Regions from separate parts of the Homo sapiens genome. Here regions 2 and 3 are each linked to region 1. The links are contacts of gene promoters, found by promoter capture Hi-C in blood cells and fetal thymus (Javierre and others, 2016). All regions are on one chromosome and are shown on one strand. The core of a region is centred on a gene start or on the middle of the fragment in contact, and the rest is flanking DNA. Distances in the headings are between cores, read along the strand shown. Region 1 holds the start of ADGRF1 (adhesion G protein-coupled receptor F1). Region 2 overlaps ADGRF5 (adhesion G protein-coupled receptor F5). Region 3 overlaps ADGRF5 (adhesion G protein-coupled receptor F5).

What was found. The method cuts DNA at HindIII sites, captures the fragments that hold promoters and counts their contacts. A CHiCAGO score of 5 or more calls a contact.
Region 2: a fragment that was not itself captured here is called in contact with the fragment with the promoter of ADGRF1 in region 1 in 1 of 17 cell types (endothelial precursors); the score reaches 5.1 in endothelial precursors.
Region 3: a contact is called between a fragment that was not itself captured here and the fragment with the promoter of ADGRF1 in region 1, in 1 of 17 cell types (endothelial precursors). The highest score is 6.5, in endothelial precursors.

What each region holds. Positions count from the first base shown.
Region 1 is chr6:47,040,762-47,044,512 of GRCh38, forward strand. It overlaps ADGRF1 (adhesion G protein-coupled receptor F1), which reads right to left and starts at 1,571. Exons shown (of 15, transcript NM_153840.4): 1 at 1,430-1,571. RefSeq lists an enhancer at 3,484-3,751. The HindIII fragment of the contact is 2,028 bases long and covers 991-3,018 here.
Region 2 is chr6:46,907,778-46,911,492 of GRCh38, forward strand. All of the region lies in intron 1 of ADGRF5 (adhesion G protein-coupled receptor F5), which reads right to left. ADGRF5-AS1 (ADGRF5 antisense RNA 1) reads left to right here. Exons shown (of 4, transcript NR_110658.1): 3 at 91-237; 4 at 967-2,252. Among named protein-coding and RNA genes, the nearest start is that of ADGRF5-AS1, 6.2 kb to the left of the region's middle. The HindIII fragment of the contact is 923 bases long and covers 1,863-2,785 here.
Region 3 is chr6:46,888,158-46,892,259 of GRCh38, forward strand. ADGRF5 (adhesion G protein-coupled receptor F5) reads right to left here. Exons shown (of 21, transcript NM_001098518.2): 4 at 178-348. It overlaps LOC124901488 (a long non-coding RNA gene), which reads right to left and starts at 171. Exons shown (of 2, transcript XR_007059921.1): 1 at 1-171. The HindIII fragment of the contact is 1,439 bases long and covers 1,685-3,123 here.

The sequences.
Region 1 (3,751 bases), core at 321-2,820:
TATCCAAATTTGAATGAATGTGTTCATTTACTTTTTTAAAGAGATGTTTGCATTCCTTTAGTTGTGTAATGAAAGACATTAGAAGGCACATTGTTGTGAAAGTATGGTGCTTTCCTTGCCCTCAGCCCAGCAACAGACAGACCCTGTTATTGGGACACTGTCCCTGTTTTTTAAGAAATTTACTCTACTTTTGGAGAAGAAAGACATACAAGGCATCCAACAATAATTCACATCAGCTTGGGGTTGTGCACAAAAGGTGAGTTTGCAAGTTGAGCTTGTCAGACTCCACAGGCATACACTCCTATTTCCAATCTTAACGCTTATTGGCACCATTTTACAAATGAAATAACCAGGATAAGACAACTAAATAATTTGCTCAATGTTTTACTACTTGTCAAAGGTTGAATAAAGTATTATGGGACCATTATTAGAACACTGTTGTCAATTTGGGTTATGGTTAGATAATGAGTGGTGTTTTCTTAATGACAACAGAGCATAATAAAAGGCTTGTGTTAATATTCTAACATATTAAAGAATGTACTTTTATTTATTTTTTGTTATTCTTGCCTCTGTTTGTAATTTCCAGCCCATGAATGCTATTATCAAGTTGAGCTTAATGGATCTCAGCATGAAAAAGCCAAGGTCATCACTTCTCCACACCTCTCCCACCTTGACCTTCTTTCTATATCTCCTTCGGTATTTTTCCTTCATGTAGTCTCTGGCATGGTACATTACATAGGCTATCAGGTTTACATAAATGGATTTTTCATGAAAACAAAGAAAAGAGAAAAGAAAAATTATATATTTTCAAGGCCTCTACTAAGAAAATACAGTGTGACATTTTATATTTATTTGGGGAAGTAGCAGGAGAAATGGTTAGTCAATTCTAGGGTTTTTTGGAGTCCTGGGAAGGAGTTAAATTGAGAAGTACTTCCTGGATATATATGGATCCAGGCAAAGCTTAAACTAATTCACCCTAAAGGAAAAATAAGCTTAATTCTCTCAAGCATAATTTTATTTTAAGAGATTGCAAGGGTTAACGTATTATGAATTAGTGAAAACCATATGACTGATACTTTAACAAGTATCTTTGGTGGAGCCCTTTTTATTCTAGGCAATCTACCTCCCTGGCACATCAGAACAATGGGGTTCCTGTGTTATCACAGAGGGAAGAGTGTGCTTTCAGTCAGAAAATCTGGAGCTTGAGCCTCAGCCAATCACCTCATTATAGTTAGTAAGCGGGTTGAAATCTGTTGTTTCTGCTCATTGCTTTTTCAACTCTGTTCCCTTATTTAACCATCTTCAGGAAATGATACATTGAAATCAGAATTTTTTTTTCAAGGAGAGAAAAAATAATCTCAGATTAACAGGTAGTACTGGTCATCGTAATACACGTTCTTAGTAATCAAAGTACAGTTATTGGGCTTACCTGGTGATTTATCTCTTCACACCAGAACTCGAGGGAGCCCTTCCTTCAGTATACTTGTGGCTCAATCACTTCTTATGCTGTTTGGAAAGAAAGTATCAGTATCTGAGCCACAGCAGCTCACTGGCATGAACACAGGCTCACTGATCCATCAGCAATTCCTGGCACGCATTACTGCCTGTGCAGGTAGACAAGCCTGGGACACACCCCCTTCAAGAAGGAAACAAAATACTTTTCTCCTAACTCCCCCTCCCGCTTAAAGTCACTATCAGGTCTGGTAAGAGGAAGGAGCACAGAGCTCAAGACTTAATGATTCTCCCAGCAGACATAAATGGGTGTCTGAAATCACAGAAGGGAAATGGGAGAGAAAAGCTCTAGGGGAATGTGGAACACTTTTGCCCTAGATCGGTTTACTACAAAATGCTACTCCATCAAATCTTCCTGTCCAACCTCTGAACACACTGGGTCATACCCTATAAAGCTGAAGGAATGCAGCCCTTCATGCATAATTCCAATGAGGAGAGGTGGGTAATTCCTGTGGGGCAGAAATAAGGGTAGATACTGTTTTTCCTTTTCCAACTTTTTTATTTAAGACTAAAGAATCAACTAGCTACTTTCCCAGATAAAACAACCTCAGACTTCTGGGTGGGGTAGTACCAAAGGAGCTGTGGCAAAAGACAGCAACAGGGTGGATGCTGGGGTGAATGCTTTTGGTGTGTTTTTTGTGCTTAGAAAACCTAGAGTGAAACCTGATTAACTTCTTTAGTAAAGATTTGTTTTCTTTCCAAGGAGTCATCCAGTTTGAAAACTATGAAAGGTCAAGATTATTATGTGCTGTATCTTTAGCCACATTGGCTCATAAATTACTTTTGGTCAAGGTAATGAGCTACTAACAACCACGTCTAAATTAGCAATTTGTAATTCTGTTATGGAATAATGAAGGGGATAATAATATGTTAATTCTCAAAAATGCCACTGAAAAGAAAGCAAAGGATGTCTCTGAATTCAATTAATTTATTAATTTTCTTTTGTTTCTTTTAAGCACTCCACGTTTTACAAATGACTTGAGCTGGCTTACAATGTTAATGCATAAAATAAAATAGTGTGAGAATAAAAATTTTAAAATCATTATAAAACCTCTATATAAACTATAAAAAAGGAAACTATAAAGAGTCAATTAAGAAAAGTGATGCAAATAATAATCCCTGAAATTATTGTTTCATAAATTTGAAACTTATCTCTAGGACAGAACTTCCTAACAGTTAAAGAAAAGGGGAAGCTAGTCAGGTACACTGTTCTCACAATCAGGAAAGAGGAAGCATCTATGTTTTCATGAAAGAGTAAGTAAATTCTAATAGAAACATCTTTTTTAGAGTGAACAATATTCCCGTCAACATTTGAGCTTCTAATTGCATGTTGAAGACCTTTAGTGCTATGTGGGCCTAAACCCAGTATGACCCACTTGTCTTCCACACCAGCTGGGCCACTGATCCCTATCATACTTAACATGATTGGGTCTGGGTCTAGCCCACTGAAAAAGTTATCAAGAGAATGGGGCTTACCTGACAAACCCCAATTGTCAGGTAGACTCAAGCTTCAACCATTGTTCCTTTGTCCCCCATCAGCCTGGGTGGAAAAAAGCTAATCTCATAATCTAGTCGAGTTAATTCCATTCTCCTTCTGCTTGTTTTCTGTAGGGTTTTGCCTGTTTCACAGTCCACCAATTATAACTGTAGACCAAATTTCAATTCCGAAAGGATAAAGACTTCCAGACATACATACTCTTACTCAGTAGGTCCAATGTCTAAAGTTTTAAGATGAGAGATGCCATCTTCTCAGTTCAGTGCCACCCCTTTCCTATTGTCTATATTAAATTACAAGTGTTTAAAGTAATTCACTGACATCCTAGTAAGAATGTGTTTATAAAATGGAATTAATAATCTACTAATCACTAGAGCAAGAAAGTGGCCATGGAATTGGGTGGAAACAGTTGAAATGACCAACTAGTGTGGAGTTTAAGGTGGTGAGGGCTTGAAGCTGAGATGGAAGCTCTGTTATCCACCTTTGGCTCATTGTGTCACTGCAGCCCAACAACTTCCTAGGGCCAAGGTATGGCCCTCAGAACCAAAGGAAACCCTACATTGTCTCATTAGACCAAAAACACTTTAGCAGACACTAGTAGGTGAGGCAACCGGTAGACATCAATGATTCCATGAGCACATTGATTTTGGAGAAAATCTGAATCCAAACAGATGAATGCATTTAATAGTCTTTTAATTCCGTGTTTAATAGAAGGAAGTCATAGTACGTCCAATATTCAGATTG
Region 2 (3,715 bases), core at 1,074-3,573, 130 kb before region 1:
GTGTCCTGTGTAAGTAATTTGTCTTCTCTGAGTCCAAGTTTTCCCATCTGTAAAACGGGGATAATTGTACCTCCCCTAATTCTCTCACAGAGTTTTCTGAGACTCGAATGAGATTAAAAGGCATGAAGAACTCCAGAAATGCAGGCTGCAATAATTATTACTCTGATCGTCAATAGAATCCAGAATGCAACCATCCAGAAGGGCAGGCTTTGGCTGCAGTGTTGCAGGGAGCGCCAGGTAAGCATGGCCAGGATAACACACTGATGATAGGCAAGATTTACATGCCAGGGAAAATTGTATTTCAATTGCCAGCTGACAACTGCCACCTTTTCCTCTTCCTCAGTGGAAAACTGGAAAACTGATCCAATTTGCAAATTTGGCAATCAAACACATTTTTTAAATTCTGCAACTCAATGGTTTGGGGGAAATGCTTTGCAATTTAGGTTATAGTAGTTGTTTAAGACCAGATGCATCTGCTATGGGGAAATCATAGCAATGTACTGCTTAATTTTCTATTGGAAGTTTTATCTTCCTTTTTGAAAGACAGTGTGTCTTTGTGGGTATTGAACAGGCTAATACAGAATGAGTCAGGTATTTAGGAGGCAAAGTAGTCTTTTCAGGCCCCAACCTCAGTTGGTTCCCTACTGAGGCAGTTAATCAAGGAGACGAGACTTAGTAACTGAATAGTTAATGAGCCTCCCTTCGAATCTGATAACCAAGGAAGAACTCACATACTAGAAGGACTAGAGCTGGCTCCATATCTTTCTACGATTTCCCAGTGTTGGCATTGCATCCTTTTTTTGGTCAGTTAGCAAGAATTACAATGTTTTCAAATAGTCATGTCTGGCCCTTTTGTACAGGCCATTGGCCAATACTGTCCCCATCTTCCCCCACCCCTGCCTCTGCTGAGACTATTTTTAATAAATTAACATTCTTATCTATGTTGACTTATTTGTTGACAACAAGATTGCAAGCCAAAAGAAATGGAGATGTAGGAAGGATGCTACCACGGGGAGGCGGGTGTTCTCTGGATGCAGAAGATGATATACAGTCATCAGTTACACACAAATGTCAGGGATTCTTCACTCAAAAGAAAGGAGAAAGCCACCACTTTGAAAGAAAGGAAATAGTCAATATATTTGACAACCTGTATGGAATGGACCTGACCAATGGGAACAGTGACACGAGCTGAAATTCACTTCAGCTTTTGGGGTTGCTGCCACACTTGGGTAGAGACCTAAAGATCAACTTTTCTTTAACCTGCATCATTAATCGTATAAACCTTCCAGCTCACAGGTATCCATACCTGTGAGGAAGCAAGCAAAAACTGTTTAACTTGGCCAATGTGGGGGAAAAGTCTATATTCATCCAGTTAAAAATATGGAGCAGCATCCCATATTCAAGGCAGTTTGTCTTCAGTAGGGGCCCTTTAATGCTAAATTCCCTAAAAGTTCATATTTCTTCTAAAATTCCTGGAGTAAACGGCAGACAAAGACTGAGAGACAAAGAGAGAAACAGAGGCAGAGAAAGAAAGAACATTATCAGATGTCATTCCCGATCTCCTTCTCTTTTTAAATTAAAATCCAGGACACTCTCTACTAAAACTCACCAAAGCTGGGAAATATGCCCTAGCCCTCAGTATTAGCCTTGCGGCTCTGAGCAACTTCCTGGTCTCCTCTGACTCTATTTTCCTGTCTGTGAAGTTAGAAGACAGGGAGAGGAAAATAAAGCACAGCCTGACATCATATGCCAGGAATAAGTCATCAAGATTCTCAGCAACACTGCATCTGGAGGATGAATGATCTGGGTTCCCTGAAGCCACCATTAATGGCATTCTCTTGCAGAGTGATTATGCACCAGGAAGCTTCACTGTGGAACTGGCCTGTTCTTACAACCCTTAGAAACAACCGGTGCTGGCTGGGTGTGGTAATGCATGCCTGCAATCCCAGCATTTTCAGAGGGCAAGGAGAAAGGATCACTTGAAGCCAGGAGTTCAAGACCAGCCTGAGCAACAAACTGAGACTCTGTATTATACCAAAACAAACAAAAACAAAAAAGTTTTTTTTTTTGTAAATAGCCAGGTGCACTGGCATGCACCCATAATCCTAGCTACTCAGGGGGCTGAGGTGGGGAGATGGCTTGAGTCCATGAGCCCTGGAGTTCGAGGCTGCAGTGAGCTATGATTTCACCATTCTAGTCCAACCTCTAACAGAGCAAGACCCTATCTCTCAATAAAATAAAATAAAATAAAATAAAATAAAAAATAGAGAAACAATCAGTGCTTAAGATCAACTCTTCTCTTAGAAATCCTTCATCAGCCCTGAGATCAGAAAACTAGGCCTAGAAAGAGCTGAGTGTCTCAGAGCTCAGAGGTGGCTAGGAGCTGAGTTCGTCAGAACTCCAAGAGATCTACCAATGATTCTCAAAATTTTAGCCAATGATATCCTCCGACAGTTGGAGCAACCATTTATGATAGGATTGTGGGTAATAATTGCTGGTGGTTATTAATTGGCTATTAATTATAATTGGTGGGTAATAATTGCTGGTGACAATGACTGTAGGATAGGATTGTGGGTAATAATTGCCAGTGGTTATTAATTGGTTATTAATTATAATTGGTGGGTAATAATTGCTAGTGAAAATGAATGTAGGAGTCCTGTCTTACTGGGTGCTCACTATATTCTAGGTCTGCTGCTGAGCTCTCTGCAAGGGTTACGCCCTCTAACCCTCTCAAGGAGCCTCTGATACTATTAAATTACCCCCATTTTTCAGACATGGAAAAGGAAGCTTAGAAGGATGATTAATTCACTGAGGCCACACAGCTGATAGACGGTAGTGGCAAAATTATAAACAAAGCAGTCTATTCTCCTGAGAACAAGGTGCCATTTGAGCTAAGAGATTTTCTTGGTGGGAAATCAACCAACCAACCAAACAAACAAACAAACAAACAAACAAATTATAAGTTATAGACACCTGACCAGGCAACTGGAAAAAAACTTCTAGCCTCATTTTGCCACTAATTAGCTGTGTGATGTGGGGCAAGTCACTTTATCTCTCTGAGCCTGTTTTCTTATCAGTAAATCCAGGGATTTGACTGCACTCAATAATTTCAAAATTGGGATGCAGGAGTTGGTCTCTTGAAGTCCTGTTACTATTTTAAGAGTCTAAAATTCTTCACAGTTATTTCAACTCAAATGCAGGCTCACTCTGGTTAACTTCTGAGAATAATCATAACTATCTTGCATTTATCTCACCACTTCTGACTTACTACACAGTCTAGGCCTTCTCTGCCCCTCATGTACACCATGGCAATGGCTTCCCTTCTTTACTTCTCTGCTCCCTCTCTACAGAGAGGCAAGATGGGTTTTCCTGAAGTACTCTTCACACAACATTCCCTGTTCAATTTTTCCCTGCTTTCAGAATAAAGGAAATCACTTTCACTGATCCTCAAGGCTCTCCATAACCTGGACTTTATTTAGAAGAGTTAGCATATGTAATAAGCATCTATAATACTTTCACTACCAAAGTCAGCTGCTTTTTCATAAGTTAAAATAGTGCAAGAGATTTTCCAATGCTCACGCAAAAGTAAAAATGCCAAGTCAAACTTTGAGAATTAATTTTGGGGAGGGACAGGAGTAATTACTGTCAAACAATTTTTCTGTGTTTGGCGAAACCAAAATAACCCTATCATTTATTTGGTTTATTAATCTCCATC
Region 3 (4,102 bases), core at 1,154-3,653, 150 kb before region 1:
AGTTTACTGATAGAGGCTTCATTCAGGAAGGCTGTGAAGTCACAGAATCACACATCCGTCTCGGTGAGTCATTTCACTTGCCTACTAAGTAAAAGATTGCTCTGATACTCAGGAGCTCAGACAGTCTGTCTCAAGACATCCAATCATTTATTCTGAAGCAATGGGTCTCTTACTCACCTGTTGTCACATTTATGCTCAAAATGTCGGTAATTTGGTCAGTGTTATTCCCATGAATTGGAAAACTGAGGCTGTTCAAGTAGGCTTTGATAGGATCCAGGAAGGATGCATTTTCAAAACTGATCTCAATATTAACAGTGTATTCTTCAGCCGTAGGACTTTTTGTGGCAACTGCAATGAAAGCACATGAAGGCTGAGAGAACTTACCATGGGAGATGGAGTAAGATCATGATGGATATTTCAGCAGTTAAAGGTAATGACAGGTACATGTGAATGGTTGGTCTATCAACCCTTAGGAATTTCTAATGAAATCTTTAGAGAAAAAGAAGGTTTATTTACTCACCACCTTGGTGTCCAAGGCCAAGCACTGCTGTGTGAAGTATGGAATGTAACGAGGCAAGAGCGGAAGCAGAGAGAATAGCAGGGAGGGTCTGGGAACTGTTCGGGCAAAATATGTCACAGTCAGGACTCAAAGGAGTGAGTCAGTGTTTCATCTGCAGTATGCATCATTCGATAGATGCACACTCTAAGGGCTGAACCATGCATGGATTGAAGACATCTGGGAAAAGTCACCCAGTTAATTCTCTTTGCCCTTAGCCTATGGAAACAGCATATATTCTTTGCTCTTCCTCTGTATCTCCAGTGTTCAGAACTGGACACTGCTTTTGTTGAGGTGCTCAACAAAAGTTTGGCAAATTGGATAGTAAAATAAAAGAGATTTTCAGCTCTTCATTGTTTTTCCAAATTGTCTCCGGGTGGTTACCTGGCTTGCATTCAAGATGGATCTGTTCCCCAACACACAGCTACATCAGGCAGGCTAATATATATGTATATGTGTGTGTATGTGTATACATATATATATATATATATAAAATATATAGAGAGAGTATATATAGTATATACAGTCTCTATATAGAATTATATATATAGACTACTATATATACTATATAGTATATATAGTACAGTATATATAGTATAGTAATATAGTATATATAGTCTATATACAGTAGTCTATATAGAGTAGTCCATATACAGTCTATGTATAGAGACTACATAGTCTTTGTATAGTATATATACTACATAAAGTATAAAGACTATAGTCTTTATATAGTATATATACTAAAGTCTATATATAGTATGCTATATATAGTCTAAGTTTATATATAGAGAGAGACTATATATAGTCTACTCTATGTTTATATAGACACTATATATATATGTGTGTGTGTGTGTGTATATATATATATATATATATATATAGTCTGGCCTGCCTGAGGTAGGTGTGTGTTGAGGAACAGATCCACCTTGACTATGGTAGTCTATATTGACTACTATATATACATATATAGACTATATTTAGACTGTCTAGTCTAGTCTATATATATAGTCTGTACAAACGTTATATATTATATATAAACACTATATATAATATATTATGTGTGTGTGTATATATATATATATATATACATAGTTTTCTATACCACATCATGTCTGGGCCACAGTTTTAAGCTTCCCAAGAGCAGGAACTGTTTCTTTCATGTTTCTTTCACTTCTCTTAGCCTTACTTACTCCATCTGGCAAAGAGCTCACCACATTATAAATAAATGACGAATCAATTCTTGTTAAACCTGAAACTCTCTGTCACTGACCAGATCTATGACCTAATCTTGGCTAGAATATATAACTGAAGCCATGGCCACAGTTAATACTTAATAAAGAATCTTCAAGGAATAAGAAAGTTTTACACAGATAAATTGAGAATATTTTTCTTTTTTCTGGACAGGACCTCTCTCTGTCGCCCAGGCTGGAGTGTAGTGGCACGACCTTGGCTCACTGTGACCTCCACCTCCTGGGCCCAAGTGATTCTCTGGCTTCAGCCTCCCGAGGAGCTGGGACTACAAGCTCATACCATCACGGCCAGCTAATTTCTGTACTTTTTGTACAGATGGGGTTTCGCCATGTTGCCCAGGCTTGTTTTGAACTCTTGGGCTCAAGCGATCTGCCTGCCTTGGCCTCCCAAAGTGCTGAGATTATAGTCATGAGCTGCTGTGCCCAGTCATTGAAAATATTTTATCTTGTCAGTTAAATAAGGAAAAAAGTAGGGCGGGCGCCATGGCTTACGCCTGTAATCCCAGCACTTTGGGAGGCCGAGGCGGGCAGATCACTTGAGGTCAGGAGTTCGAGACCAGCCTGGCCAACATGGGAAACCCCGTCTCTACTAAAAGTACAAAAATTAGCTGGGCATGGTGGCGTGTGCCTGTAATCCCAGCTACTCAGGAGGCTGAGGCAGAAGAATCGCTTGAACCCAGGAGGCAGAGGTTGCAGTGAGCTGATATCGTGCCACTGCACTCCAGCCTGGGCGGCGAGAGACACTCTATCTCAAAAAAAAGAAAAAAATAAGGAAAAAATTAGTGAATACTTATAAAATGATTACTTTAAAATTTACATTCTATCTGAAAAGATGAAGTTTATTGTACCATAAAGTTAAAATTCTATGTTAAAAGGGCAAAAAATTTTCCCATAATATTTCAAGATTTAAATATTCCAAGGACTCTTGGTGTGAAATACTAAAATAGAGTAAGTTTATCCTGGGAAACTCTAATTGTTGAATGTTTATTTCAGAAAGCTGTAACATTTGTTCATTTAGCTTGGAAAACTGTTTGTCTTAGGTCTTTGGATTTACCCATCAACCTTGTTGAGAATTATTTCATCCTGGCATCATTCAGCTTCTGCAATTAACTCAGCCTATAAAAAAGGTCTGTCGCATATTTTCCTAAAATTAAGAGTGAATATTAAGGTATACTTCTTCTTTATAAAAATGTATTTGACAAATAGAATAAAGTGACTTTTATAAGAATGCGGAAACTCAGCCTGTGATGATAGTATGGCATTGCCTAAAATTTCCTGTTGACTTTCTGATTCTCCAATGGTTCTGTGATGAAAACAAGCTTCCTGGAAGAATGGTTAATCTTATTTTATGTGATTCTAACTATGGACACATTATGTGGTCCACTGGGAATATTTACGAGGAGAAAGGCTGCATAATATTTACAAGTTCTGCCTTAGCGCACATTCTTTTTCCTGAAAAGTAATGCAGCAACGTTTATATCCTCCAGAGGGTTCACTACCTCCAGGATCCTCTTTGCCATGCCAGTCTACTATCCTCCCATAAATATAAACAGGATTTCCTGGATGGTAGCTGCCTTTTGGATGGGTGAGGTCAGTAACAAATTCATATCATATCCACTTCATTACTGGCTTTGTTGAATCCCAGGACCTGATCCCACAAAATATCAATGCCTGCCTGAGGGTCATGTCTGCCCCTGTGCTCTTTTCAGTCACAACTGAAGAACAAGTGTGTGCCTAGAAAGCACATGGTGATTCACGGATGTTATCACTCCCCATTGAAACCAAGGCAGTTCTGCTCAGATTTTACAAGGAGCCAAGCCAAAGCATCAAGAACTAAGAGGAAAGGCTCTTGTGACCTTAGCAAGTTTCAGTCTATAGCATTCCTGCAGCTGTTAATGTGAGCACCCAGCCTCTAAGGACCTCTTTCCTTTACCTTTTATGTTCTCCAACAGCTTCTAAAAAGAGTTTCAGAATCACCCTCAGCCTGAGCGTCACCTCTGTAGAAACTGATATGGATGGGGAACCTCGAATAGAGAAGGAAATGCCTTCTCCTTGAAAATACTCAATTATTTGAAACAGGCTCAAAAACACCACTGTAATTTAGCAGGCTGTTGGCTTACTCTCGGAAATCATCTACTCCAGTGATCCCCAAACTTAACTGAGGATTACATACACCTAGGGAATACACAAATACACACACACACACACACACACACACACACACACACACACACACACACACACACAGAAAGAGAGAGAGAGATTTTGGAGCTCAGCCCATGTGAACCAAAGTAAA